Linked DNA regions of Homo sapiens: regions 1, 2, 3, 5, 6 and 7 are each linked to region 4. The links are contacts of gene promoters, found by promoter capture Hi-C in blood cells and fetal thymus (Javierre and others, 2016). All regions are on one chromosome and are shown on one strand. Each heading gives the region's core, a stretch centred on a gene start or on the middle of the fragment in contact. The rest is flanking DNA. Distances are from core to core; before and after follow the strand shown. Region 1 overlaps HMOX2 (heme oxygenase 2). Region 2 overlaps HMOX2 (heme oxygenase 2). Region 3 has its middle 15 kb from the start of NMRAL1. Region 4 holds the start of GLYR1 (glyoxylate reductase 1 homolog). Region 5 overlaps DNAJA3 (DnaJ heat shock protein family (Hsp40) member A3). Region 6 overlaps CORO7-PAM16 (CORO7-PAM16 readthrough). Region 7 overlaps CDIP1 (cell death inducing p53 target 1).

What was found. Contacts are between HindIII fragments. The CHiCAGO score rates a contact against its expected background, and 5 or more counts as called.
Region 1: a fragment that was not itself captured here is called in contact with the fragment with the promoter of GLYR1 in region 4 in 1 of 17 cell types (erythroblasts); the score reaches 5.8 in erythroblasts.
Region 2: a fragment that was not itself captured here is called in contact with the fragment with the promoter of GLYR1 in region 4 in 3 of 17 cell types (neutrophils, erythroblasts and fetal thymus); the score reaches 8.3 in neutrophils.
Region 3: a contact is called between a fragment that was not itself captured here and the fragment with the promoter of GLYR1 in region 4, in 1 of 17 cell types (erythroblasts). The highest score is 5.3, in erythroblasts.
Region 5: a contact is called between a fragment that was not itself captured here and the fragment with the promoter of GLYR1 in region 4, in 7 of 17 cell types (neutrophils, fetal thymus, total B cells and 4 more). The highest score is 9.8, in neutrophils.
Region 6: a fragment that was not itself captured here is called in contact with the fragment with the promoter of GLYR1 in region 4 in 4 of 17 cell types (neutrophils, monocytes, total B cells and 1 more); the score reaches 11.0 in neutrophils.
Region 7: a fragment that was not itself captured here is called in contact with the fragment with the promoter of GLYR1 in region 4 in 3 of 17 cell types (endothelial precursors, M2 macrophages and megakaryocytes); the score reaches 6.3 in endothelial precursors.

What each region holds. Positions count from the first base shown.
Region 1 is chr16:4,501,989-4,506,262 of GRCh38, forward strand. It overlaps HMOX2 (heme oxygenase 2), which reads left to right. Exons shown (of 6, transcript NM_002134.4): 2 at 3,496-3,622. The coding sequence starts at 3,537. Among named protein-coding and RNA genes, the nearest start is that of HMOX2, 28 kb to the left of the region's middle. The HindIII fragment of the contact is 957 bases long and covers 2,312-3,268 here.
Region 2 is chr16:4,485,238-4,489,310 of GRCh38, forward strand. The region is part of intron 1 of HMOX2 (heme oxygenase 2); the gene reads left to right. The region is part of intron 1 of LOC124903636 (a long non-coding RNA gene); the gene reads right to left. Among named protein-coding and RNA genes, the nearest start is that of HMOX2, 11 kb to the left of the region's middle. The HindIII fragment of the contact is 7,136 bases long and covers 1-4,073 here.
Region 3 is chr16:4,457,171-4,461,271 of GRCh38, forward strand. No RefSeq gene overlaps it. Among named protein-coding and RNA genes, the nearest start is that of NMRAL1, 15 kb to the right of the region's middle. RefSeq lists a silencer at 2,365-2,565. The HindIII fragment of the contact is 3,824 bases long and covers 940-4,101 here.
Region 4 is chr16:4,845,841-4,849,937 of GRCh38, forward strand. GLYR1 (glyoxylate reductase 1 homolog) reads right to left here and starts at 1,448. Exons shown (of 16, transcript NM_032569.4): 1 at 1,388-1,448; 2 at 334-370. The coding sequence starts at 1,425. It overlaps UBN1 (ubinuclein 1), which reads left to right and starts at 1,641. Exons shown (of 18, transcript NM_001079514.3): 1 at 1,641-2,370. RefSeq lists enhancers at 892-951, 1,252-1,311, 1,607-2,449 and silencers at 1,502-2,221, 2,232-2,321. The HindIII fragment of the contact is 6,120 bases long and covers 491-4,097 here.
Region 5 is chr16:4,427,273-4,431,134 of GRCh38, forward strand. All of the region lies in intron 1 of DNAJA3 (DnaJ heat shock protein family (Hsp40) member A3), which reads left to right. Among named protein-coding and RNA genes, the nearest start is that of DNAJA3, 3.3 kb to the left of the region's middle. The HindIII fragment of the contact is 1,791 bases long and covers 1,323-3,113 here.
Region 6 is chr16:4,343,719-4,347,616 of GRCh38, forward strand. All of the region lies in intron 27 of CORO7-PAM16 (CORO7-PAM16 readthrough), which reads right to left. All of the region lies in intron 1 of PAM16 (presequence translocase associated motor 16), which reads right to left. Among named protein-coding and RNA genes, the nearest start is that of PAM16, 5.7 kb to the right of the region's middle. RefSeq lists a silencer at 1,216-1,416 and an enhancer at 3,631-3,898. The HindIII fragment of the contact is 3,035 bases long and covers 1-2,768 here.
Region 7 is chr16:4,522,691-4,526,742 of GRCh38, forward strand. The region is part of intron 1 of CDIP1 (cell death inducing p53 target 1); the gene reads right to left. Among named protein-coding and RNA genes, the nearest start is that of CDIP1, 14 kb to the right of the region's middle. RefSeq lists an enhancer at 1-82. The HindIII fragment of the contact is 937 bases long and covers 861-1,797 here.

The DNA of each region.
Region 1 (4,274 bases), core at 1,540-4,039, 340 kb before region 4:
GCTTTCCTTCAAAGTAAAATCGGTAGAACCTATTTTGAGTGTAGAAAATTTGAAGTCGTGGACAGCAGATTACAAAAAATTGCCCACCACCATGCCTGGCTCATTTTTGTATTTCTAGTAGAGATGGGCTTTCACCATGTTGGCCAGGCTGGTCTCGAACTGCTGACCTCAGGTGATCTGCCCACCTCGGCCTCCCTAAATGCTGGGATTATAGGTGCGAACCACTGTGCCTGGCTCCTTTTTGTATTTTTCGGAGAAGCACAAGGACTTGTTGTTTAATTAAGCAAGACTATACTCTCCCAGAGCATGCAGTTATTATTGAGTAAAACACAGTTAATGAGATTTAATCACGTTCCCTATCACTGTTGTGCAGCATGATAAGTAGGTGCAAATGGCAAGAAGCACGCTGAAGTTACTGCAGTTGGTAACCTGGGCCATGGATGGCACTTGTCTTTGCCTCATTTTGCCTGTAAGAAGCATGGGGCCTGTGGTCCTGGGGTACCTGGACCCTCAGCCTGGTGTGTGTGTGCCCTCAGCCTGGTCCTTTACTTCCATCACCCATCTAGAGGCTCCAGGACCCTTTACTGCACCCCTCCCTCCTCTAGATAGCTCAGTGTTTTCATCCCAGCACCTTTTTCTCTGCTGCCTGAGAACTGAGCAGCCAGAGACAAATTTTGGCTCTCAGGGTCCTCAAGGGTGTACAGCAAAGCTGTTCTTATTATTTAAAGTATTTTATTTATTTATTTTTGAGACAGAGTCTTACTTTGTCGGCCAGGCTGGAGTGCAGTGGCATGATCTCGACTCACTGCAACCTCTGTCTCCCAGGCTCAAGAAATCCTCCTACATCAGCCTCCCAAGTAGCTGGGATTACAGGCTGGAGTGCAGTGGCTCCATCTCGGCTCACTGCAACCTCCGCCTCCCAGGTTCAAGCGATTCTCCTGCCTCAGCCTCCTGAGTAGCTGGGATTACAGGTGTGTGCCACCATGCCTGGCTAATTTTTGTATTTTTAGTAGAGACAGGGTTTTACCATGTTGGCCAGGCCGGTCTCGGACTCCTGACCTCCTGATCTGCCCACCTCGGCCTCCCAAAGTGTTGGGATTACAGGCGTGAGCCACCGCGCCCGGCTAGCAAAGCTGTACTTTTACCAAAAAAAAAAAAGAAAACATTTATAAATCAAGGTCTGAAGGCCCATGTGAGGCTTATTCTACAGCTTGCAATGCCTGTTTTTGCCCCTTGGTAAGTGGACGCACAGCTGGGCAGCCTTATGCTATCTCTGTGAACTACCCATTTCTGGCTTTGTTCATAATATTCCCTTGATCTGGAGGCCCTCCCCCAGCCCTGCCCCAAATCCTGTCTGTGTTGAGGGTCCTGCCCCAGGAAGCCCTCTGCATACTCTTCCCTGCATGTAATACCTGCCTGCTTTCACATTCTTCTAGACTGTGCTGTGCATCGTACAGTTCATCAGCATTATTGCAGAGTAGAGTGTCTCTGATTTGGAGTCAAGAGAAGGTTCCATTTTTCTGTACATCCCGATGTTTATTTTCTGAGTGTTCTCAGACATCACTAAGCCTCAGTCAAAATAAAGTATGATCATGATGTAACATTCATTGAGTGCTTATCACATGGTAGGCATTGTGCTATATGAGTTATTGCTTGACTTCCTAAAATAATCCCAGTAGAGATGCTAAATCTAAAGGTGAGAGAGATGGTTCAAAAAGACCTCAGTGAGCAAACCATGTACTATAATATCCTAAAAGATAACAAAAATGTAACTAGGTATCTAGAGAAAACTCAGGAAGGATATGTGCCTTGGGCCTTTTAAGGACCATTTCTTAACACTTCTGTGTTCTTCTTGACACCTGTTTCTGGGTAGAGCACATAGAAAATGCTCAGTAAATAAGTTCTTTTTCCTTGGCCCAGTTTGGCCTGATTTGGCCCCAGTTCTGTCTTTGTGAGTTACTTTATTAGTTGTCGGTGCTACTGTGCTGCTATTCATGTGGAAGATTCCCCAAATGGGCTGCGCCTTACATTGCCTGAGCAGAAGCCCCGAGGGATGGAGGATGAGCTTGCCTTGTTATGGGACTGTGTTTCCCTGGCTGACAAAGGCTCAGCATTTGCAGCAGGCAATGGGAATTGATTGGCCAACTTAATATTTCCTTCAGCCTAGCAAAGTCCTGAGTAGGCTAGGGACAGTCTGCTTTTTTGGTAACTCCTGTAGGCTGCCTTCTGCACAAGGCACCCAGCCTCTCACAGGTAGGATGAACTGGCCTCAGCACGCTTGCAGAGGGGTGGAACTGTGCGTTGCTTGCCAAGCTTTTTGTTTCCCTAAGGTTTTTGAGGTTTTCTTTGTTTTTGGTAACTTTCAATTTTTTTTTTTTTTTTTTTTTTTTGGACAGAGTTTCACTCTTATTGCCCAGGCTGGAGTGCAGTGGCGCGATCTTGGCTCACTGCAACTTCTGCTTCGTAGGTTCAAGTGATTCTCCTGCCTCAGCCTCCTGAGTAGCTGGGATTACAGGCACGCGCCACCACATCCGGCTAATTTTGCATTTTTAGTAGAAACAGGGTTTCTCCATGTTGGTCAGGCTGGTCTTAAACTCCTAACCTCAGGTGATCCACCCACCTTGGCCTCCCAAAGTGGTGGGATTACAGGCATGAGCCACCGTGTCTGGCCTAACTTTTAATTTTGATACGGTCTTTTTTTTTTTTTTTTTTTTTTTTTTAAGACAGTTTCGCTCTTGTTGCCCAGGCTGGAGTGCAACGGCGTGATCTCGGCTCACTGCAACCTCTGCCTCCTGGGCTCAAGAGATTCTCCTGCCTGAGCCTCCCGAGTAGCTGGGATTACAAGTGTGCACCACCATGCCCGGCTATTTTTTGTATTTTTAGTAGAGACAGGGTTTCACCATGTTAACCAGGCTAGTCTCAAACTCCAGTCTGCCTCGGCCTCCCAAAGTGCTGGGATTACAGGCATGAGCCACTGTGCCCTGCCTTGATACAGTTTTAAGCATACAGAAAAATGGTAAGAATAGTACAAAGAACTCTCATACCTCTTCCCCAGATTCACTGCTAGGATTTTGCCTTGTTTGCTTTTCTGACTTGCCAGTGTCCCCCACCCTGCAGCATATGCACATGCACACACACTGTCTTCTGAACCATCTGACAGGGAGTTGCAGGCAGTGTACCTTTACTTCTGAATACCCCAGTGTGTATTTCTTAGGAACAAAGACATTCTCTTATATAATCGCAGTACAATTATTTTTAAAAACCAGCAAGCTTAATGTCAATACAATGCTATTACCTAATACATTGTTCATATTCAGATTTTTTCCATATTCCACTATGGTCCCAGTAATGGCAGAGCTTTATTTTAAAGAAAACAATCCTGGGGTGTGTGGGTGTCACCTTGGTTACATTCGCTCTGAGGAAAGCAGAACCGACAGGTATTTGGGGAAGTGACTGCCGTGGGTGCCACATCACCAGCTCCTTGTGTCTCTGCAGGACCAGAGGAGCGAGAGCAGCAAGAACCACACCCAGCAGCAATGTCAGCGGAAGTGGAAACCTCAGAGGGGGTAGACGAGTCAGAAAAAAAGAACTCTGGGGCCCTAGAAAAGGAGAACCAAATGAGGTGAGCGATGGGGGCTGGCTGCACTGAATCAGGTGGGCCCAGCACCTGTCGTGCTCAGCACACCTGGTTTTGTCTGTTGGCAGCACTGGGGAGTGGCCATGGGCCATGAGCTCTGGACCCCTGGGTGCCTGCTTGGCCCTGCAGGGACCGCATACAGCTTCGGCTGCTTAGAACTCTCCCCACTGGTCCATTGTCTCATCCAAGGAGGCAGGGCAGGTGCTCCTGGGAGTGCTGATAGGATTTGATGGTAGTTATCCTTTTTTCTTTTTAAAAACTTGTGCGTTTCCTCATCTGGGCTGAGAAAGGGTAAACGCAGGCAAAGCTGGCTCTGTTCAGTCTTTTACCACATAAAAGACTGCAGGGCAGCCTTTCCTTACTCTGTATAGGGACAGCTCATGCTAAACCTGAGCTTCCAGGCCCTGTTCTGCATCATTAGCCTCTCATAGCCCTGTCATTGGCCAAGTTTTTTTTTTATCCCTTGAAATAATTGCTAATAATAAATTGATTCTCAGCACATGGATGATAACGAGCTAATCTCCTAAAGAAGACAGCAGAAGCCAGACCATGATAAGGCCAAATTTTTCTCACTCTTGTAGATGGATTGTGTGGACACATGTAAGCCCCTGCCCAAGTACCACCATCTTTAGGATCA
Region 2 (4,073 bases), core at 179-2,678, 360 kb before region 4:
TTACAGGGGTGAGCCACCATGTCAGGCCTTTTTCTGAATATTTTTAATCTGAGGTTGGTTGAATCCACTGATGCAGAGCCCATGGATATGGAGGGCTGACTGTACTGTATTGAGCTTCTAAGGTATGCAGAGTATTGGCACTGAGGGGATGTGCAAATACAACAACAAACCAAGCATAGTCTTTGTTTACTAGGAGCTGGTAGTAACTGTGGGAAGACACAAAACAGTAAAATCACTTTGTAAGGTTTATGAGAGTTTTGAGAGGCCAGGGAAGTTAAAGAGTGGAGAAATGGAGAAAATGGGAGAACTTGTACTGAACCCATTAGGACAGAGGAGGAAGGGAAGAGAAGGAAGGAGGCCAAAGAAAGAAGAAACCCTTCTTAGAGCACTCAGGGTCTTACTGAAAACTTTACCCATAAAAAGAGAATGTCACTGATAGACTCCTTTTAGAACAGGGATTGATTTTTTTGTTTTTGTTTTTGTTTTTATTTTTGTTTTTGTTTTTGAGAGAAGTCTCGCTCTTGTCCCCCAGGCTTGAGTGCAATGGCTTGATCTCGGCTCACTGCAACCTCTGCCTCCCGGGTTCAAACAATTCTCCTACCTCTGCCTCCCAGGTAGCTGGGATTAAGGCACCTGCCACCACGCCCGGCTAATTTTTGCATTTTTAGTAGAGACAAGGTTTCACCATGTTGGCCAGGCTGGTCTCGAACTCCTGACCTCAGGTGATCCACCCACCTCAGCCTCCCAAAGTGCTGGGATTACAGGCTTGAGCCACCATGCCTGGCCACAGGCAACATTTTTAAACCATACGATTGTCCTGGAGAGAGAATCTGAAGCCTTGCTCTGATTCTGAAAGGGATTTGCAACCAAAAAAGGATAAGGATTGTTCTGACAAGTACCCTTTCTTCCCATCTTCAAAAGTACACATCTCTTAATTTGTGTCTTCAAACACAAATTGTGTTCAAAAAAGGAAGTATTTGAGTAGATTAAAGACAGAAACCCTAGGACATTCCTTTGTAAACAAACAGCCTTTTACCAAACACCAACTGTCAAGGGACTTGCCTGAGTACTTGTCCAAAGGACAGCGTGTCCCCATGTGTAGGCAGTGGTCTAATCTGGTTCCTAGGAGAGGACTGCTGAGGCCACAGCAACTTAACTGGCTAGTGTGGGTGAGGCAGAAGTGTTTGAAGCTCAAGGTCTGTCAAGGACAGCTGATTAGAGTATGTCTGTCCCTAATACAGGGTTAGAGCTCAGTACCAATGCTGGGGATGAGGTGAGTTGAAGACACAGAAACTACATGGTTTTTTGGAAGGTCACGAACTTTTCAAGGAACTAGTGGGCAACTGGAAATGATATGTGAAAGAGTAGAGGGAGCTCTGGCCTAGCTGCCAGAAAACTCTGGGCAGGTCAGGTCTGGGAACAGTGGCTAATCCAGGCCCAGCTTCCCACTGTTGATTTGGACATACAGGCCTAAGATAAGAGACCGTGCCCAGAGCCACTGGTCACTTAGCACAGGTAGTGGGAAATGGTAGCCAGCAAATGTTTAATTGAATATCTTATGTCTCCTAGACCACAGCTGAGCAAACTAGGCCAAGCTCAAGGTCCTGAGGGGAATGAGGAGCTGAGCTCAGTCCCTTTTGGCCCCCTTTCTCTTTCCCTCCTCATTTTAAGTATGGAAGCTCACTTATTTCCTTTTTGTATTGGCCATTTGTGTAGGGTTTTGTTTGAAAAAGGGCTTGAGGCTGGGCGTGGTGGCCCACGCCTGTAATCCCAGTACTTTGGGAGGCCAAAGAAAGATTGCTTGAGCCCAGGAGTTCGAGACCAACCTGGGCAACATAGTGAGACCCTGTCTCTACAAAAAAATTTTTAAAATTAGCTAGACATGGTAGTGAATGCCTGTAGTCTCAGCTGCTCGAGAGGCTAAGTTGGAAGTATCACCTGAGCCCAGGAGTTGAGGCTGCAGTGAGCTCTGATTGACCCAGTGCACTTCAGCTTGAGCAACACAGCAAGACCCTGTCTCAAAAAAAAAAAAGAAGTTGGGCACAGTGGCTCAGGCCTGTAATCCCAGCACTTTGGGAAGCCTAGGTGGGCGGATCACCTGAGATCAGGAGTTTGAGACCAGCCTGACCTCTAAAACTACAAAATTAGCCAGGCGTAGCCCAGCGGCTCATACCTGTAATCCCGGCACTTTGGGAGGCCGAGGCGGGCGGATCACCTGAGGTTGGGAGTTTGAGACCAGCCTGACCAACATGGAGAAACCCCATGTCTACTAAAAATATAAAATTGCTGGGCGCAGTGGCTCACACCTGTAATCCCAGCACGTTGGGAGGCCGAGGCGGGTGGATCACAAGGTCAGGAGATCGAGACCATCCTGTGAATGGCGAAACCCCGTCTCCACTAAAAATACAAAAAATTAGCTGGGCGTGGTGGCTGGCGCCTGTAGTCCCAGCTCCTTGGGAGGCTGAGGTGGGAGAATGGCGTGAACCCGGGAGGCGGAGGTTGCAGTGAGCTGAGAACACCAGCCTGGGAGACAGAGCGAGACTCCGTCTCAAAAAAAAAAAAAATTAGCCGGGCGCGGTGGCATATGCCTGTAATCCCAGCTACTCGGGAGGCAGAGGCAGGAGAACTGCTTGAACCCGGGAGGCGGAGGTTGCGGCGAGGGGAGATCACGCCATTGCATGCCAGCCTTGGCAACAAGAGCGAAACTCTGTCTCAAAAAAAAAAAAAAAAAAAAATGTAGCCGGGTGTGGTTTTGCATGCCTGTAATCCTAGCTACTCAGGAGGCTGAGGCAGGAGAATCACTTGAACCCGGGAGGCAGAGGTTGCAGTGAGCTCAGACCGTGCCATTGCACTCCATTGTTTCGCTGCAACGAGAGGGAAACTCCATCTCAAAAAAAAAAAAAAAAAAAACAGGCTTGAGTATACCTCTCACAGCCCTGGAGAATGCCTGAGCTGTTGGACAGTTGCCTTTTCCATTATGTCTGCTTTTTTCTAAAGCTATTCATTCATTGTTGCCTAATCATGTCCTCAGTCAGTAGTTGATGTTCTGGGCTATTTGAATTTCCTCTGAATAATGATTAATGGAGATAATGATGTTTGACCAGTTCTGGGAACTCTTGGGAATTAAAGGAATTAAACTCTTGGACATTAAACTTCACTTTAATGTGTATAGTTGTGGGTGCTGCCCCATTGGAGAAGATTGTGACAGGAAGTTACACAGTTTTACAGCAAACTGCTGGGATTTTTTATTTTTTTTTCAGTAAATTATGATAACTGTAGCATTTTCCTTTGCAATAATGATAACCTAAGGCCTTGGTGTTTCCTCTAAAATGTACATAGATACAGGATGTGGGTTTGTTACAAAGTTGTATAACTATTGCCTTTTTGTGGCTGACCCCTTCCCTAGAGAACAACATGAAGAGACCTTGCTGCTGCTATGAAACCCAGACTCTAAGGACAACTTGGGGGACATTGGATATTTTTTCACAGATGTAGACATCAAGGAGTCAGTGGTTTGTGTATGCGTTGAGTGGAGAAGGCTGGCAAGCATTTGCTACCATGACTGTTAAAAATGTGCCTGTACATTTCTTTTTTTTTTTTTTTTTGAGACAGGATCTCACTCTGTCACCCAGGCTGGAGTGCAGTGGTGTGTTTTTGGCTCAGTACAACCTCCACCATTGTGGGCTCAAGCAATCCTCCTGCCTAGGACTCCTGAGTAGCTGGGATGACAGGCATGTGCCACCACGCCCAGCTAATTTTTGTAGTTTTTTTGTAGAGACAGGGTTTTTGCCTTGTTGCCCAGGCTGGTATACATTTCTTTATATAAGGAGGGGGCAAGTAACACAGTGTTATGCTACCAATCAGGCTTTCAGAGACCATAAAACAAAATCTAAAAGGTACGCTCTTAGTAGTCATATCTGTGGAATGTAAGGAAGCCAGTTTAAGACCAATGTAATGCAGCATTTTCCCTTCACACATGAAACAGTGAGTTACTCGAGCACAAAGCATCAAATGCTTATTCCCCCCACAAGGCCATTCTTATCTTTCACCAAGTGTTTAGTCACTAGGCAGCC
Region 3 (4,101 bases), core at 1,602-4,101, 390 kb before region 4:
CTGGAGTGAAGTGATACCATCTCTGCTCACTGCAACCTCTGCCTCCTGGGTTCAAGCGATTCTCCTGTCTCAGGCTTCTGAGTAGCTGGGACTACAGGTGCATGCCACCACGCTTGGCTAATTTTTGTATTTTTAGTAGAGATGGGGGGTTTCACCATGTTGGCCAGGCTGGTCTTGAACTTCTGACCTCAGGTGATCCGCCCACCTCGGCCTCCCAAAGTGCTGGGATTACAGGTGTGAGCCACCATGCCTGACCAAAATTTTTATGTATTATAGTTTGGCTACTCTGGGTTCCCAGCCACGCTCTATGCCTGGCGTGGCTAGAGGGGCCCTGATACACAGCTCAGTCCACTCTGGCACTCTGGGCTGAGCAGGGTGAGATGAGAGTCTGTTTGCTGGGTCAGGTGGAGAAGAGACTCGGGAAAGAGCTGACGGACAGGAGAGGCTCAGCAGTGACATTCTGCTCATCTCAGATACTTCCCAGTATTTTCATCAATGAAATACTGATTGCCTGCCTACTGTGGACACTCAGTATGGACCAGGCCCTATTCTAGTTCCTGGGGATACAGCAGTGGGGAGCTAGACCGTGTCTCTTGTGAAAGCTTGGGCTTATTCCTGGAACAGTCACCCTGAGTCTCATTCATGTCCTATTGCTTCAAAGCAGAAGTCTAGAGAAAGACTTTGGAAGAGAAAGGTGGATTTTCTTGCTAAACAGAAACCATTGTTGTGTTGAAGCATCCTTCCCTCAAGGGATTAGAGGTGGCTGTGCATGACCAGGCGAGGTGGCTCACACCTATAATCCCAGCACTTTGGGAGGCTGAGGCGGGTGGATCACCTGAGGTTAGGAGTTCAAGACCAGCCTGGCCAACATGGTGAAACCCCGTCTCTATAAAAATACAAAAAAATTAGCCAGGCGTGGTGGCACATGCATGTTATCCAAGCTTCTCAGGAGGCTGAGACAGGAGAATCACTTGAACTCAGGAGGTGGAGGTTGCAGTGATTGGAGATCATGCCATTGCACTCCGGCCTGGGCGACAGTGCGAGACTTCATCTCAAAAAAAAAAAGGTGGCCGTGCAACAGCTGTAGAATTCAGTGCTCTTTCTGGGCCTGGGTTTGGTTTATTTCCACTTGTGCTCCTGATGTATTTGTTACCAGACTTCTTTATAGCTTCTGAGTAGTAGTATGTATTTAAAAATATAAGAAAAGGGCCAGGCATGGTGGCTCACGCCTGTAATCTGAACACTTTAGGAGGCCAAGGAGGGAGGAATGTGTGAGCCCAGGAGCGAGAGAGTGAGACCCCCATCTCTACAAAAAAATTCTAAAAAATTAGCTGGGAGTGGTGGCTTGGCACCTGTAGTCCCAGCTACTTAGAAATCTTGAGGTGGCAGGATTGCTTGAGCTGAGGAGTTCAAGGCTCCAGTGAGCTGTGATCATGCAACTCCACTCCAGTCTAGGTGACAGAGCCAGACCATGTCTCAAGAAAATAAAGTATTTCTAGGCCTGTGAGCCTGTGGGAGGTACATGTTTGGCACTTGCTTAAACATTAGGAGGGTGGGCCGGGCGTGGTGGCTCACACCTGTAATCCCAGCACTTTGGGAGGCCAAGGTGGGCGGATCATGAGGTCACGAGTTCAAGACCAGCCTAGCCAACATGGTGAAACCCTGTCTCTACTAAAAATACAAAAATTAGCCAGACTTGGTGGTGGGCGCCTGTAATCCGAGCTACTCGGCAGGCTGAGGCAGGAGATCCGCTTGAACCCTGGAGGTGGAGGTTGCAGTGAGCCAGGATTGCGCCACTGGATTCCAGCCTGGGTGACAGGGTGAGACTCCATCTCAAAAAAAACATTAGGAGGGTGGACAAGGCCAGCTCTCAGGCATTGGTCCTCAGCCCCATTCCCACCTCAGGCCTGGGACTGGGTTGTTTCCAACCTGAGCCCCCTCCTCACTCATAGTCCTTTGGGTTCTGGTGGCCTGGCCTTTGTTTCCTTCCCTGTCAACCAAACAGTGTGCAAGAATTCTCTCCAGGCCCACAGGCCTCCAGCTGCCCCTGCCCCTCTGTGTTTGTAGCACTGCAGAGCCGGCTCTGATGTGGAGGACGGCAGCTGCACGGCTCCTGGAAGAGGCTTGTTTCACACTCTTGCTTGTTAATAAATACTGTGCAGGTCTTATCTTTTAACTAGAAGTTCTGCTTATTTCTCATGACTCTTCAAGGGTCACAAATGGGCCAGGGGGGAACATAAAAGGCGAAGTGGGTCCATAGTTATATGGCCAAGGGCATGATCCACAGACCTTAGCTTACTGGTCACCTCCCCCGATGCTGCTCCTGTCCCCATTTATTTATCCTTCCTGTTTTGTTTTTTGCAGCCCTTATGTCAATTTGTTTTTTGGGTTTTGTTTTGTTTTTGAGACAGGCTTTCACTCTGTTGCCCTGGCTGGCTTGTGGTGGTGCAATCACAGCTCACCACAGCCTTGACCTCCTGGGCTCAAGTGATCCTCCTACCACAGCTTCCTGAGTAGCTGGGAGTACAGGCACATGCCACCACGCCTGCCACCATTTCTTCTGTTTTTTTGTTTTTGAGGCAGAGTCTCCCTCTGTCGCCCAGGCTGGAGTGCAGTGGTACAATCTCGGCTCACCACAACCTCCACCTCCTGGGTTCAGCTGATTCTCCTGCCTCAGCCTCCTGAGTAGCTGCCGGCACACGCCACCACGCCCAGCTAATTTTTGTATTTTTTGGTAGAGACAGGGTTTTGCCATGTTGACCAAGTTGGTTTCGAACTCCCAACCTCAACTGATCCACCTGCCTTGGCCTCCCAAAGTGCTGGGATTACAGGCATGAGCCACCACGCCTGGCCCTAGTTTCTTTTGTATTTCTTTTTTTTAGGTAGAGATGGGGTCTTGCTATGTTGCCCAGGCTGGTCTCGAACTCCTGAACTCAAGCCATCCTCCACCTCAGCGTCCCAAAGTGCCGGAATTACAGGCGTAGATACATAACTATTTATTGTGTGTTTCTATCAGGCTCTCCCACTAAATATAAGCTCCTCAAGGCAGGCAGCATAACTTTTTTTGCTACATTGTATTTAGGGCCCAGCATACTGGTAAATTGTCAAAGAAATGCTTCAGTCAATGGATAGAATGAATTTTTGTGCCTGGGGGTGCCAGAGCCAGGGTGGGGAAGTAAAAAAATAAAAACTGTGATGGTAGTCACACAAACCTAAATGTGTTGAATTGAAATTCACAGAACTGCTGGGCTCAGTGGCTCATACCTGTACGATAATCCCAGCTACTCAGGAGGTTGAGGTGGAAGGATCACTTAAGCCTGGGAGGTGAAGGCTGCAGTGAGCTATGACTGTGCCACTGCACTCCAGCCTGGGCAACAGAGCGAGACCTTGACTCTTTAAAAAAAAAAAAAAAAAAAAAAAAAATTGGCCAGGCGCGGTGGCTTATGCCTGTAATCCCAACACTTTGGAAGGCCGAGGCGGGCGGATCACGAGGTCAAGAGATCGAGACCATCCTGGACAATATGGTGAAACCCCGTCTCTACTAAAAATACAAAAATTAGCTGGACGTGATGGTGCATGCTTGTAATCCCAGCTACTCGGGAGGCTGAGGCAGGAGAATCACTTGAACCCAGGAGGTGGAGGCTGCAGTGAGCTGGGATCGTGCCACTGCACCCCAGCCTGGGTGACAGAGGGAGACTCCGTCTCAAAAAAAAAAAAAAAAAAAAAAATCGGAGCTGCCATGGACCACAAACTCTCAGGCAAATAACTGGTCTCTCGGCCTCTGACCCTCTTCTCTGTGACCCACCCCAGCAAGCAAGGTGGGTTGTTTCTCCTTCAGTTTTGCTTCCCAGCAGTGTCCAATTACTGTGCGTTGTGGACCACAGCTCTGCCACATCCGATTTTCCTTTTTCCAACCTGTTTGAAGTTCACCTGTGTCCAGGATGGTACCCCAAGGCCGGCTCCTTCCAGGACAAGGATGAGGAGAGAAAGGGAGAAGCCCATATCTCCCCCGCCTCCCTGCAGAGCCTGTCTCCAGTTCACATGTGCAGATGGCCTCACTAGCTCTGGAGATGAAAGGGGTGTGTCAGAAGCTCGGCTCCT
Region 4 (4,097 bases), core at 198-2,697:
TAGACTTTCTTCCTGGATAATTTATATTTTCTTCTCCTTTTGTTACATTTAAGCATAAAGCTAAATTCAGACTAGAATTATTTCCGGGGTTAAAAAAGAAACTTCATAAACCTCCTCTAAATCCAGAAATAAGGGTTTAGAGAAGATTTAATGATCTGGTGTATACTGCATTGCCTTTTAAAAAATAACCGATACTAGGGGAAAAAAAATTCTAAGTGCCATCTGAATGAGCCCAATTTAACTCAATACTAGAAACTGAGAGGAATGCATCTTACATTCTCCACCTCTTCAAACCCAACTTCAGATCTCTTCCTTTAGTAGCAAGACACTCACCTTTCCTGGCCAAGGAGGATATCGGCCGAGTTTCCCCCTAGAGAAAACACAAAGAGTCAACACTTGCCCTGCAAAAGCCAGTCCATCTCCTTCAACCCACTCAATACGCAATTTATTTTCCTAAATCTCTGCTGGCATCCTCAAATGCCGAAACAAAAGCTTTCATAGCTGGGCCCAACACCCTCAGAAGTAAAATGCAAAATTGTATACTTATGTGCACAACGCATATCCATTCTTCTGTTGACAAGGAATACAGAACAACACAACTGTCAAAAGTCACTTGTCTAGAGCTTCTTAATGACGGGGGTGGGAGGACAGCTTCCTCTGTAAACACAGACTTTCCCTCCCTAAGTCTGGTTTAATTCAACAGGAGACCTGCCTGGCTTTGACAAATGCTAATGGAAGCCTTCCTCTGGGTGGAGAAACAAGCTACGCAGCTCGAGGGAGGCGGCGACAAAGTCTTGGTTCGGGCGGTTGTCTGGGACACAGAAGCAGACCGCGGGAGGCACCCAAGCGTGCACTGGTCACTGCCAAGCCATCGGTTGTAAAGGAGAAGTCCCCCCGCCGTTTCTTCGCGGGGCAACGCCAGCAGTCCGGTTTAGACAACCCCGGCTGAGCCGGCCGCACAGGTCGGCTGCATCGCAACCTGGGCTTTGACCGAATGGCACCGGCCAGATCTCGCAGGTCCGGTCCCCGGCGCTTCTGCTTTCTGGGAAGCCCCAACAAGACCCCGGGGACCGGTCGTCCGGGGAAGCCTCGCGGCACCGGCGGCTCCCTTCACGGGGGCCGCCAGTATCTGGGCCCCGAGTGCAGACCCCACCCGGCCGGCCTCGGGGATCAAAGCCGGTGCCCGACGTGGCCACCCTCGGCCTCGGTCCCCCGGGACTGGACTGCCCCTTCCGCCTGGCGCCGCTCGCAAGCGCCGGCACCTTCTCTTCCCCTCTCTCCGCGACCTGGAGCGCATAAAAAGGCAGCTCCAGGGCCGGCAGCGAACCCCGCGCCCAGGCGGGTAGCTCCCCGGCGCGTCTCGGTTGGCCCGGCCGCTCGGACTCACCACACCAAGTCGCCGAGCCGCAGACTCACAGCCGCCATCTTACCACCCAACCACCGCCGACGCACGGGCCGCCGGGAACAGCAAGTCGCCCCGGCGCCGCCCATTGGAGTGGGCCCGACCACGTGACGGGGGCCGGCTGTCACTGGCCACGCCGCTACTCTGACGTCACCGCGCCCGCCGGGGATCATTGGTCGACCGAGGGGCACGTGACGCGAGCGCCGCGGTCTCCGCGCGCCGGAGCGCAGAGACTCCCGGCTCCTTCCCCCTCCCTTCGGCTCGTGACAACGAAGCGCCCGCGGTCTGAGGCGGCGGCGGCGGCGACGGTGCGACCGGCTGAGCGCGAGAGGGAGCCGGCCTCGCGGCTCGCCCCGCCCCCGGGTCTTGGACTCCGCGCCCCTCCCCTCTCGGCGCTTCCGTTACGCCCGTTGGTCCGGCGCGGGCCCCGGGGCCATTCCCGAGCCCGAGGCGCTGGTCGGCCCCGTCGCAGCGCCAGTGAGCTACCCTGACGGAGCTCGGCGCGGCCTGGAACTCAGCCTCCGCCGGGTCTGGGCTCCCGCGCCCGGCAACTCTGCTTGGCCGCAGGCCGGGAGGCCCCGGTGTCCGCGCCCGTCCGCTCCCGCCGCCCGTGTTCTTTGGAGCGCTCCTCCCGACGGCCGCTTTCGGAGGCGCCGTCTGAGCGCGGGGTCCCGCGCCGCAAGTTCTCCTGGGGCGACCGGAGGCTGCTCCCCCGACCCCCTGGTGTCCCCGGAGTGGCTGCGCGGACGTCGAGTTGGCATTTCTTCGCTTCCTCCTGGGCCGGCGCGCGGCGCGGCACACCAGGCTCCCCTGGGCTCGGGGACCCGGCCATGGGCCGAGGCGCGGGCCGCCCGCCCGCTGGGAGCCACGGCTTAGCAGCCGACCGCTAGCTGCGCCGCCGCCCGGGGACCGGCATGAGGACCGCCGCGGGGGGACGTCTGCGGCCCGCGTCGGCGCTGGGGACAAAGGTGCGTGTCGTTGTCGGGTCCGGGCTCTCTCGTTAGCCTTGCCCTAGTTTTGCACTTTTGAAAAAGTTGTGACAACAGGAAGACAGATGCCGGGCGTAGTTTGGACACTTTAAAACTGAACCATGAACTGGGAAGTGTTAACTGCAGTTGAGCGCAGCGTCGGCCCAAACTTCAGCAGACCAGGTAGAATCACAATTTTGCAAAAGATCCCAGTCCCGATCACAGACTCCACAGTGTTAAGGATTGACTTAGACTTGGTGTCGGGCTCTTGTTGAGTCACTGCCAGCTGGCAAAGGTGGCGAGTCGACACGCATTTCCCCAAGGCATTGTGGTGGTTAGAGATTTCGGTTGCAAGTCGGTGTTTAGCGTACTGGGTCGTCCCGCAGCCTGATTTTTCTTGGGAGATCAGTTTCCCTGAAGTACCAAGAATTAGCTGCACGGACTGTCATTTACTGCGTGTGTATTTTTAAGACAAAGTGATCTTTAAAGCGTATTTAAGATTCCAGGGAATAATTTGATAAAAATTTAACATAAGTTCCTGTTTAAAAATTCTGAATTTGTGAGGAATTGAATGAGATTTTAATAACTTAAATAAAAACATGAATCTTGGCCGGGCAGGGTGGTATAAGCCTGTAATCCCAGCATTTTGGGATGCCGAGGCGGGTGGACCACCTGAGATCAGGAGTTCGAGACCAGCCTGGCCAACACGGTCAAACCCAGTACTCTACTAAAAATACAAAATTAGCCGGGCGTGGTGGCGCATGCCTGTAGTCCCAGCTACTTGGGAGGCTGAGGCAGGAGAATCGCTTAACCCGGGAAGCGGAGGTTGCCGTGAGCCGAGATTATGTCACTGCACTCCAGCTAGGCGACAGAGCGAGCGAGACTCGTCCCCCCGCCAAAAAGAAAAAAGAAAAAAAAATCTCAAATGAACATTGCACCAAAACCTAGAGGCATTCCCCTTAACATCAGAAACATGGTACATTTCTACCACTATTAGATAATAAGAATATATTGCCTAAAACCTGAAAGTTCTAGCCAGTGCAGTAAGACAGGAAACAAAAATAAGAAATGCAATTTTTGGAAAAGGGAAGACAGAATTCTCATTTCCGTGGATGATAGGTCTGCCTATTTTGAAAACAAAAACAAAAACCAAAAAACCCATTAAAATAAGAATTCAGGAAGGGTACTCATTATAAGTTGGAATGCACAATTTAGTTTTTCTGTTTCATCAATAACCAGTTTGAAAATACAATGTTTAGAAGGAGATATATATATATATAGTAAGAAAAAATTAAAAATTGCTGAGGATAACCAAGGGACAAGGAAGGCTAGTATTTTCTCAGTAACACCAACTGAGGTTTTTAAAGGGGGATCTTTGTTTTTTTCTTTTTTTTGTTTGAGACGGAGTTTCACTCTTGTCGCCCAGGCTGGAGTGCAGTGGCAGGATCACGGCTCACTGCAGCCTGGACCTTCCCAGTCTAAAGCCATCCTCCCACCTCAGCCTCCTTAGTAGCCAAGACTACAGGGGTGTGCCACCATACCTGGCTAATTTAAAAAAAATTTTTTTGTGCAGATGAAGTCTCATCATGTTGTCCAGGCTGGTCTTAAACTCCTAGGCTCCAGCGATCATCCTGCCTTAGCCTCCCAAAGTGCTGGGTCCGGGAAGTTGAGGCTGCAGTGAGCTCTCATGGTGCCACTGCACTCCAGCCTGGGCAACAGGAGTGAGG
Region 5 (3,862 bases), core at 968-3,467, 420 kb before region 4:
TTGTGCTAGTTTTGTGTCCTCTAGAATTTGTGCAAATGGTATTTAAGCTATCTATAAATTTATAAAGATTAATTAAAGGGCCCTGACAAGATAATTTATACCAACTAACTTCCTGTTGCAATCCAGTTTGTAATAGTTACATAGTAGACAATCATTAAAGTATCAGTAATTGTGGTTACTTCATGCAATGTAAAGAAAAGAGCCTGGGCTTCAGGGGTGAACTTCCCCAGCGTCTGTGAGCGGGGTGTATTATTTAACCCCTTCGAGCACCTGTCTGAAAATTCATTCATTCACAGGTGTTAATTGAGGCCAATTGTATGCCAGCCACTGTTCTGGGCACTGAGGAGATGGCAGAGAACAAAGAGATTGGATGTGTGTTTGGTTAAGAGAATGATTATTTATGTATTTAATTATTTTTTAAGACAGGGCCTCCTGTTGCCCAGACTGGTGCAGAGGCACAATTACAACTCAGTGCAACCTTGACCTCCCAGGTTCAATCGATCCTCCATCCTCAGCCTCCTGAGTAGCTGGGACTACAGGCATGCACCACCACACCCAGCTAGTTTTCTGTAGATGGGGTTTCACCATGTTACCCAGGCTGGGCTAAAGTGATTCCCTTGCTTCAGCTTCCCAAAGTGCTGGGGTTACAGGCATCAGCCACTGCACCTGGCCAACAGAATGAATTTTTTTTTTTTTTGAGACGGAGTCTCGCTGTGTTGCCCAGGCTGGAGTGCAGTGGCGCTATCTCAGCTCACTGCAAGCTCCGCCTCCCGGGTTCACGCCATTCTCCTGCCTCAGCCTTCTGAGTAGCTGGGACTACAGGCGCCCGCCACCACGCCCAGCTAATTTTTTGTATTTTTAGTAGAGACAGGGTTTCACCGTGTTAGCCAAGATGGTCTCGATCTCCTGAACTTGTGATCCACCCGCCTCAGCCTCCCAAAGTGCTGGAATTACAGGCTTGAGCCACCGCGACCGGCCTTATTTTTATTTTGAGATGGACTCTTGCTCTGTTGCCCAGGCCAAATTGCAGTGATGTGATCCTGGCTCACTTCAGCCTCCCAAGATGCTGGGCTTATAGGTGTGTGCCACCATGCCAGGCTAGATTTTTCAACATGAGCAAAAGTGGCCATTTTTAGAGCTTGCTAACATTTTCTAATGTCAAGGTTGTTTTAAATAGAATCTGGCTGCATCTTTTCATTCAAATATTAATCCTTAGGTGACTTGTTTTATTAAGCCAAATTTGTTCATGTTCCAGCTGTACAAATTTGGGAGCACTCGTTATTATTGTGTATGTGAAAGAGAGAAACAGGCACTAAACACTAAGCTTTGTGTGAAGCTGTGACTAAGGAACTGCGGTTAGCTGTCTTGTTCCCCAAGTGAGCTCATAACCTGCCATGGGCAAGTTTTATATCAGGTAGTGTACACAGGTGAGAGGTGGCATCCTTCAGGGTACGTGCTGTTTTCACAGATAGAGTCATCAACTGGTTGGGCGGGGTGGCTCACGACTGTAATTCCAGCGCTATGCTGGCGCTGAGGCAGGAGGATCACATGAGCCTAGCAGTTTGGGACCAGCCTGGGCAACATAGGCAGATCCCATCTCTACAAAAAGATTTTTTTTTTTTTTTTTTTTTTTTGAGACGGAGTCTCACTCTGTCGCCCAGGCTGGAGTGCAGTGGCACGATCTCGGCTCACTGCAAACTCCGCCTCCCGGGTTCAGGCCATTCTCCTGCCTCAGCCTCCCGAGTAGCTGGGACTACAGGCACCTGCAACCGCGCCCAGCTAATTTTTTGTATTTTTAGTAGAGATGGAGTTTCACTGTGTTAGCCAGGACGTCTCGATCTCCTGACCTCGTGATCCACCCGCCTCCGCCTCCCAAAGTGCTGGGATTACAGGTGTGAGCCACCGCGCCCGGCCAAGATTTTTTTTGTTTGTTTGTTTGAGACGGAGTCTTGCTCTGTAGCCAGGCTGGAGTGCAGTGGTGCGATCTCGGCTCACCATGATCTTGACTCACCGTGATCTCGGCTCACCGCATCCTCCGCTTCCTGGGTTCAAGTGATCCTCTTGCCTCAGTCTCCTGAGTAGCTGGGACTACAGGCACGTGCCACCACTCCCAGTTAATTTTTGTATTTTTAGCAGATACTGGATTTCACCATATTGGCCAGGATGGTCTCGATCTCTTTACCCATGATCTGTCCACCTCAGCCTCCTAAAGTGCTGGGATTACAGGTGTGAGTCACCGCGCCCGGCCTACAAAAAGATTTTTAAAAATTAGCTGACTGTGGCCGGACATGGTGGCTCACGCCTGTAATCCCAGCACTTTGGGAGGCCTATGCGGGCGGATCACCTGAAGTCAGGAGTTTGAGACCAGCCTGATCAACATGGAGAAACCCCGTCTCTACAAAAAATACAAAATTAGCCAGGCCTGGTGGCGCATGCCTGTAAACCCGGGTACTCGGGAGGCTGGGGCAGGAGAATTGCTTGAACGTGAAAGTCGGAGGTTGCCGTGAGCCGAGTTAGCGCCATTGCACTCCAGCCTGATCAACAAGAGCGAAACTGTGTCTCAAAAAAAAAAAAATTAGCCAACTATGGTGGCAACTGCCTGTACTCCCAGCTGCTTGGGAGGCTGAGGTGGGAGTTTCACTTGAGCCCAGAAGGTTGAGGCTGCAGTGAGCCATGATGATGCCACTGCACTCCAGCCTGGGCAACAGAGTATGACTCTTTCTCTACCAAAAAATTAATAAAGTCATCAACTGAGAAGCCATGTGGTGGCGAGCCTCTATAGTCCTAGCTACTCAGGAGGTTGAGGTGGGAGGATTGCTGGAGTCCAGGAATTTGAATTTGGCCTAGGCAACATAATGAGACCCCTGTCTCTTAAAAAAAAAAATTTTGAAAAGGTCATTAACTCAGCGTCCAAACACTAGTCTGTGATCTTGTCTCAAATCTAGTAGTAAGATGACATAACAACATTTTAGATGTGACTTTTCTTCCAAGCAGAAAGAAAGCAGTTGTTGGTGGCCAGGTATGGTGGCTCATGCCTGCAATCCCATTACTTTGGGAGGTGGGTTGATCGCCTGAGGTCAGGAGTTTGAGACCAGCCTGGCCAAGATGGCCAAAGCTTGTCTCTACTAAAAATAGAAAAAGTTGGTCAGGCGTGGTGGCGGGTTCCTGTAATCCCAGCTACTCGGGAGGCTGAGACAGGAGAATCGCTTGAACCCAGGAGGCAGAGGTTGCAGTGAGCCGAGATCGCGCCACTGCCCTCCAGCCTGGGCAACAAGAGCCAAACTCCCTGTCAAAAAAAAAAAAAAAGAAAGCAGTTGTTGGACAGTGGGTTGGCCATTCTTAGAACGACTTGGAGGCTTATTTTATTCTGGGTTGTTCTAAAAAGGACAGGACATTTACTGGTCATATGTGATAAAATAAATAGTCTATTAAATGAAATCTAATTATTGTTAATCATTGATGCCCTATGGATAATGTCAAAAGTCATCAGACTGGGGATGGTGGCTCATGCCTGTAACCCCAGCACTTTGGTAGGATGAGGCCGGCGGATCACTTGAGGTCAGGAGTTCGAGACCAGCCTGGCCAACATGGTGAAACTTCTTACCTACTAAAAATACAAAAATTAGCCAGGTGTGGTGGTGTGCGCCTATAGTCCTGGCTACTTGAGAGGCTAAAGCAGAAGAATCGCTCGAACCTGGGAGATGGAGGTTGCAGTGAACCGAGATCACACCACTGCACTCCAGCCTGGGTGACAGAGTGAGACTCTGTCTCAAAAAAAGAAAAAACAAAGCCATCAGTCTTGTAATTAAACGTGATTTGTCTTTATCCACATGCAGTTTTGTGCGTTACTATCTCTGTACTA
Region 6 (3,898 bases), core at 1-2,500, 500 kb before region 4:
AACCTTTACTTTACCAACGGGGAAACAGATCTGTCCTAATTCTCCCAAGTCCGAAGACTTTAAGTCCATTCCATTCAATAAAACAAACTTACTATGCAAACCTGTTTCCATCTTCAAGGAGCTAAAAGCCCACTAGGAGGGTATTTAAACACACTATGGACCAAATCATGAGGGAGAGTCAGGCTCGTTCATTTGTGCAGCCATTGGTTCACCCATTCATTCAAACATCTGCTGAGAGTCTACTCTGCTCAGCACTTGAGCACAAAGCTACACAGAACCTGGTCCCTGCCCCGAGTCAGAGCACACTGCTGGCCTGGCAGGGAACCCCACTGTCACACACCAGGCTGAACATGCCGGAACACTGCACGTGTGATTCCATGCCCCGCAGAGGCCCTGGGGACTCACTAAGATGTGAGCGGAAGCAACAGAGTCGAGGGAAAACTCAAGACTGAGATGGGATTCGGTGAGAGGAGGGGGTTCTGTGTGAGAGGAGGGCGTTCCGTGAGAGGAGGGGGTTCCGTGAGAGGAGGGGGTTCCGTGAGAGGAGGGGGTTCTGTGAGAGGAGGGGGTTCTGTGTGAGAGGAGGGGGTTCTGTGAGAGGAGGGGGTTCCGTGAGAGGAGGGGGTTCTGTGTGAGAAGAGGGGGTTCTGTGTGAGAGGAGGGGGTTCTGTGTGAGAGGAGGGGGTTCTGTGAGAGGAGGGGACTGTGTGACAGGAGGGGGTTCTCTGAGAGGAGGGGACTGTGTGAGAGGAGGGGGTTCTGTGAGAGGAGGGGGTTCTGTGAGAGGAGGGGGTTCTGTGAGAGAAGGGGACTGTGTGAGAGGAGGGGGTTCCGTGAGAGGAGGGGGTTCTGTGAGAGGAGGGGGTTCCGTGAGAGGAGGGGATTGTGTGAGGGGGGGTTCTGTGAGAGGAGGGGGTTCCGTGAGAGGAGGGGGTTCCGTGAGAGGAGGGGGTTCTGTGAGAGGAGGGGGTTCCGTGAGAGAAGGGGGTTCCGTGAGAGGAGGGGGTTCCGTGAGAGGAGGGGGTTCTGTGAGAGGAGGGGGTTCCGTGAGAGGAGGGGGTTCTGTGAGAGGAGGGGATTGTGTGAGAGGAGGGGATTGTGTGAGAGGAGGGGGTTCTGTGAGAGGAGGGGGTTCCGTGAGAGGAGGGGGTTCCTCCTGGGCTGGGCTTTGCAGGGTAGGAAGAATCATGATGGAAATACTAGGGCTTTCTAGGCAGAGGGACTGGGTTGAGCCAAAACTGGCAGGAGAGAAGGCAGAAGGGAGTTCCTGCGAGCAGCCAATAGCCTAGGCTGGCCTGGGAAAGACTGGGAATCTGGCGGATGACATGGAAAGATGCACAGATCTTTGTGAAACAAAGCGATTATATATAGACAGCACATACAAAGGATCTTGTGACTGCAAAGCCGTAGACGCAGGGGGGTGGCGCGGGCTGGAGGCAGCTCGGCATAGGTTGAAAGCTCATGTGGCACAGCCGAGTGACTTTCCCTTTCTTCCTAGTGCTTTTCTGTAGATTTGCCTTCAGTCAACAAGTATCAACTGAGTCCACACACCAGGCACGGTGCCAAACACGTTCAATTCATTGTGCCGTTTAATTCTGACAACTCAGGGGTGGGGGACTGCTGACTGGCCCGAGGACGTAACAGCAGGTGCCTCGGAGGCAGATCGGAAACCCAAGGCTGGTGCTATCTGTCACAGCAGTCACTACGCAGGGTCCCGGGGTCTGAAGGTAGGGCACCTGGGCAAGCCGACAAGTATCAAGAACCCAACCCCGAGGCCAGAGGGGCTTGCTCCAGATTCCAGTGGATTCGACTCCAGAGCTGGCCTTGTTCAGCCTCCGAGGACCTGCTCTTTCCTTAACAGGTGGGATGTCATTATGGGCCATTAGGGGAATGAACAAACAAGTGGGTTAAGATTTCAAAAGTAGGTGGAAACTTCATAACTTCTGGATTTCACAGCAGAAAGAGCCCAGAGAAGACCCTCCTGTGATCACAGCGAGGGGCAGGGCTGTGGCTGTACTGCAGATGAGGGAGGGTCAGGGATGCACCTGATGACACCTGCGGTCTCACCTGACTTCGCCTCCTTCCTAAAGCCCCTCCCGAGTGGAACAGGAGGCTCAGGGATGGGATGCTGGTGCTGTCTGAAGGACAGAGGTGAAAGTCAGAGGGTCCCCTCGGCTTGAAACACGGCTCAGGTCTCAGACTACCCCTCACACCAACAGCCTTCGGTCCCTCTGCTGCCATCGTACAGCCTTGCAATCACTTGTTTACTTTTCTGCCAAGGCCAATGACTGTTGCAAAATAATGAACGGTAAGAGCTGAGGTCATAACTGGGGAGCTTCCCCGACCATCCCCTGCACACTTCAAACCAAAGCGGCGTGGTGGCCTGTGGCTTCAGCTGCCTAGAGCTGCAGGGCAGAGGGGGGCTGGCCTGCAAAGTTTCAGCAGACTGGACGGCCCATTGAGGCCAGCAAGGTTCCTATAGGAGGCATCTCTGAGAAGACGCAGTGTAGTGTAATGGTTACACCTGCAGGCTTTGGGATCACCTGTGTGCAAAAATCCCAGCTATCTGACATAGACACGTTCTCAACTCCTTTGAGCAACCCAGTTTGCTTACCTGTAAAATGTGGCCACCAATAAAGCTGAGATAATGCCTGTCAAATGCCTGGCACACAGCCTAATGGTACAGCAGGTGCTCAATAAACATTGGTTTTCATTCATTACTACTGTTTCACAAAATCTGACAATGACCAGGCACTATGAAGTAACAAAGCTTCTTTCAAAATAGCAGCTCATTTGATACAGGCCCTTTGCTTCCTCAGGGGTGAAGGCTGCAAAACACCATACTACATTCCCTCAGGGAGCTGGGAAGCAGCAAGGAAGCAGAACGAGAACCACGTTGACCTGGGACCAGAACCCTAGCTTTCTTTCTCAATAGCTGTGTGACCCTGGACAAATTACTCAACCTCTCTGAATCTTTTTTTGTTTTGGTTTGGGTCTTTTATTTTTTATTTATTTTTTTGAGACTGACTCTCGCTCTGTCACCCAGGCTAGAGTGCAGTGGTTCAATCTCGGCTCATTGCAACCTCCACCTCACCAGTTCAAACGATCCTCCTGCCTCACCCTCCCAAGTAACTGGGATTACAGGTGAACACAACCAAGCCTAGCTAATTTTGTATTTTTAATAGAGACGAGGTTTCACCATGTTGGTCAGGCTGGTCTCAAACTCCTGACCTCAGGTGATCCACCCGCCTCGGCCTCCCAAAGTGCTGGGATTACAGGCATGAGACACCACACCTGGCCTTTTTTTTGGAAGCAGAGTCTAACTCTGTCGTCCAGGCTGGAGTGCAGTGGTGCAATCATGGCTCACTTGCAGCCTCAGCCTCCCAGCCTCAAGAGATTCTCCTGCTTAAGCCTCCCGAGTAGCTGGAGCTACTTGTACTCAGCCTCCGAGGACCTGCTCTTTCCTTAACAGGCGGGATGTGATATGGGCCATTAGGGGAATGAACAAACACAAGTGGGTTAGGATTTCACAAGTAGGTGGAAATTTCATAACTTCTGGAGGCTGAGCACACGCCACCACATTTGGCTAAATGTACTTTTCTGGAGAGATGGGGTTTCGCCATGTTGCCCAGGCTGGTCTTGAACTCCTAGGTTCGCATGAACTGCCCTCCTCGGCTTCCCAAAGTGCTAGGATTACAGGTGTGAGCTACTGTGCCCAGCCTACCTCAGTTTTCTTAACTGCAAGATGGAGAGAATAACACCCTCCTCACAAGAGGACAGTAAGGCCCTCAGGAGGCAATGCCCATTAACACCACATGGACAAACAGCGGCAGGTCCAGAACTAGGCGGTGCAGGCAAGCCCCTCATCCACCTATCCAGTACCCCAACATCCCCTGAG
Region 7 (4,052 bases), core at 79-2,578, 320 kb before region 4:
AAAGGCCAAAGCAAGAAGTGAGCCAGAAGCAAGCAGGAGCTCACGTGGGCCTCAGGGAAGATGCTCTCAGTCCAGATAGCAGCACCCTGCAGGGACAGGGCAGCGGGAAAAGGAGAGCACAGAATCCCCACCAAGGGTGCAGGCCTGAAGGGGACCCTTCCAGGGAGGCTTGGCCCACACTAGGCCTTTCCATCCTGTGACATCTCCATCCAACACACAGACGGATTAGTTCAAACCCACCTTGGAGGGCGGTGTGAGAATTAAGTAAGGCATGGATATAAAAACTTACTGAACCACTGTAACGGGCCATGCAGCGTGAGGGTCATTAGGAGGGGGACTGTTACTTGCAAGGGATGGCCGCTGACCACGTAGCTGTTCCGCCTATTCTCCCAAGCACCCCAGGGCTGGGCTGAAGCACAGTCTGTGAGGTGACCACGTAACAGAGGCCCTCTAAGGGGAGGGCGGGGGATGGTGCTTCCTTCTGATAGTTACTCAGCACATCCTCCGTGCCAGATACAGGCTGGGGATTAAAGACACGTCCCTGGCTGGGCGCAGTGGCTCACGCCTGTAATCCCAGCACTTTGGGAGGCTGAGGAGGGCGGATTACGAGGTCCAGAGATCGAGACCATCCTGGCCAACACGGTGAAACCCCGTCTCTACTAAAAATACAAAGATTAGCTGGGCGTGGTGGCACGTGCCTGTAATCCCAGCTACTTAGGAGGCTGAGGTAGGAGAATCACTTGAACCCAGGAGGCGGAGGTTGTAGTGAGCCAAGATCGCGCCACTGCACTCTAACCTGGCGACAGAGCGGGACTCCATCTCAAAGAAAGAAAAAAAAAGACATGTCCCTGCCTTCCAGAAGCTTACGGTCAAGTGAAGAGGATGAGCGTTAAATAATCACCCCCCTCGCCAAAAAACCACAAACACAATTACATCTGTGACCAGTGGTATCGAGAAAGTCCAGGGCACAGTAGAAGGACAGCAAGATCGCCGTTCTGGAGCTCTAACACCATCTCTTCAAGCAAACCTGGGAGGAGGTGGCGGAAGAGTTAATGAGACCAGCAGGCAAAGGGAGGGATGGGGACAGCAGAGGGAACAGTGAGTACACAAGGCCTAAGGAAGGAGGGATGTGCCCCTGAGGGTGGCCAGATGGCAGCCTGGGGCCCTCACAGCGACCCAGCCACAGGGTTTGTTCCAGAGCTCAAATACCTCAGATCTCCAGGACAAGGATGACAAGGCCAGCTGGACAGTGTCCCAGGCCCTTCTCCTCAGGCTTTAGGCTTCCCCAGGAGACCTCCGGCACCATTCAGCCTTGTTGCATTGTGGCACTTGGAAACAAAGACAGCGGTCTTCTTTGCTTGACTGTCAATAGAATATTGGGAGAGCACAGGTCTCCCTGGGACCCTGCCTCGCCGCTGATGGCCTGCAGCCCTAGACAAATTCCTCAACCTCTCTGAGCCTCAGTTTCCCCACGTGCAAAATGAGGTTCTTGGAAGGCTGAACAAAATCCCACATGTAGATGTCCAGGCTGTATTGCTGGAGACGCCTTCCATGAATTACTACGCAGATACCACCACCCATACAGAGCTGTGCTGTGCTCCTCCACATCACACTGCAAAGGAAGAAGGCAGAATAACAAGATCTCAAACAGCAATGTTCCGCCTAATGAAGTACAGACTGGAGATTGCCAGCTGCACCCAAATCCACTCTCTCCCCCATTCTTGAATACAGAACTCCACTTTCACTCAGGGCAAGTCCATCAACCAAGAGGGTCCCCGAGCTTTCTTAGAGTGACAAAGCTTTGGCTAATGAGCTGTAAGCAGAAGTGTCCAGACCATAAGAAGGCATTCAGGGCAAGCCGACTCAGCCCGGAGCCAGGCCCTTCATCTTTCCTGCCTTCCTCCCATCTACCACCTGGAAGATAGATGCCATGGCTCCAGTAGCTGTGCTTCACCATGAGGGCCTTGGGATGGAGGCCAGTGCCTAGGACAGCCATGGGACACCACACCAGCAACTAACTGACCACCTCCCACATCTTCCACATGAGTAATAAAACTTGGTTTACTGGTTAATTATTGGTAAATTATTTTCAGGTTAAGTATTAACAAGTGTCATTACAAATATACAGCACAGACAGGTGCAGTGGCTCACACCTGTAATTCCAGCACTTTGGATGCCAAGGTGGGAGGACTGCTTAAAGCTAGGAGTTCAAGACCAGCCTGGGCAACATAACAAGATCCCATCTCTACAAAAAAATAAAATTAGCCAGGTATGGTGATAGACACCTGTGGTCCCAGCTACTTGGGAGGCTGAGGCGGGAGGATTGTTCTAGCCCAGGGATTCTAGGCTACAAAGAGCTATGTCACGCCAATGCACTCTAGCCTGGGCAACAGAGTGAGACTCTATCCCCCCTCCACCACAAAAATATATCTCTACAGTTCCTTAGGTCTGAAGGAACACAAGTTCTCTTCAAGTGATCCATGATCAAAAGGATCATGGCTTTCTTTAGGTCACATGACACAGCCTCAGCCAGTACAGAGGCCAAGGCATGGGGAATACTCCCTGGCGGGAAGGCTGGAGCAGATGCTTCCGTAGTTAAAACAGGCCCCGAGAGAAGTGCAGCTGGTTGCCTTGGAGCGAGGACACATTCTTCTGCAACTCCAGTGCTCATTTCAGCATGAGCACTGGCTCAAGGAGGAGCTGAGGAGGACGATGGCGTGCAGTGAACGTTAATAGAGCATGCACTGTTTGGATGCAGGTGCCCAGCACAGGGACATGAAGGAAGTGCTCCAAGTGAGGAGGTGCTCAAAAGGGAGCCCCTGCTGTGAGACTGCTCCTGGGCCCCAAACCCTCTCCACTCCCCTCTCCACCATGCCCTATCCAAACCTGGGGCTAATCCAGCCACCCAAGTCCATGTGGGACCAGGCCAGGATTCCCTGTGGCCTTTCGCAGCTGACCAGAGGGACCCTATTCCCAACGCTGGGTGATGAGCAGGAAAGAGGAGGCCCTCCACAAAGGTCCACTCAGTTGCAGAGCAGCCTCTAGTGAGGCTGAGCCCTCCCAAGACTCAGGGAGGTTGCCAATGTGTCCCCTTCTCTGGGACCGTTGTCCTCGGCTGCCAAGTTCTAGCACAGGCAGGCCTGGAAAATCCTGAACATGGCCCATTTCCCATTGTCCTGATGGAGGCAGGACGAGACAGTCCCTCCCTCAGATAACATCGCGGGTGGCTCTGAACCATTTATTTATTTTTACACTTGAAGATGGGTGTATCTGATGCCTTGGGAATTCTAAACACTTCAAAACAAGCTCAACTTAAGTCACAGAAAGGACCAGAAAACAGATCTGGTTTTCCCATCTGCCAGCTCTCCTCCCACCCAACCCTACATGCTCCTCCTCGACCATGATGAGTCTCAGCGGAAATAAGACACCAGCCTAGCCAGGCACGGTGGCTCATGCCTGTAATTACGGCACTTTGGGAGGCAGAGGTGGGCGGATCACGAGGGCAGAAGTTCAAGACCAGGCTGGCCAACATGGTGAAACTCTGTTTGTACAAAAAATACAAAAATTAGCTGGGCATGATGGCATCCGCCTGTAATCCCAGCTACTCGGGAGGCTGAGGCAGGAGAATTACTTGAACCCAGGAGGCGGAGGTTGCAGTGAGCCGAGATCACACCGTCGCACTCCAGCCCGGGCAATAGTCTGAGAATCTGTCTCAAAATATAAAAAATAGCTGGTCACGGTGGCTCACACCTGTAATCCCAGCACTTTGGGAGGCCAAGGCAGGCGGATCACAGATCAGGAGATTGAGGCCATCCTGGCTAACATGGTGAAAACCTGTCTCTACTAAAAATACAAAAAAATTAGCCAGGCATGATGGCGGGCGCCTGCAGTCCCATCTACTCAGGAGGCTGAGGCAGGAGAATGGTGCAAACCCGGGAGGCGGAGCTTGCAGTGAGCTGAGATCGCGCCACTACACTCCAGCCTGGGCAACAGAGTGAGACTCCATCTCAAAAAAAAAAAGATAAATAAAAATAAAATAAAAAATAAAATAA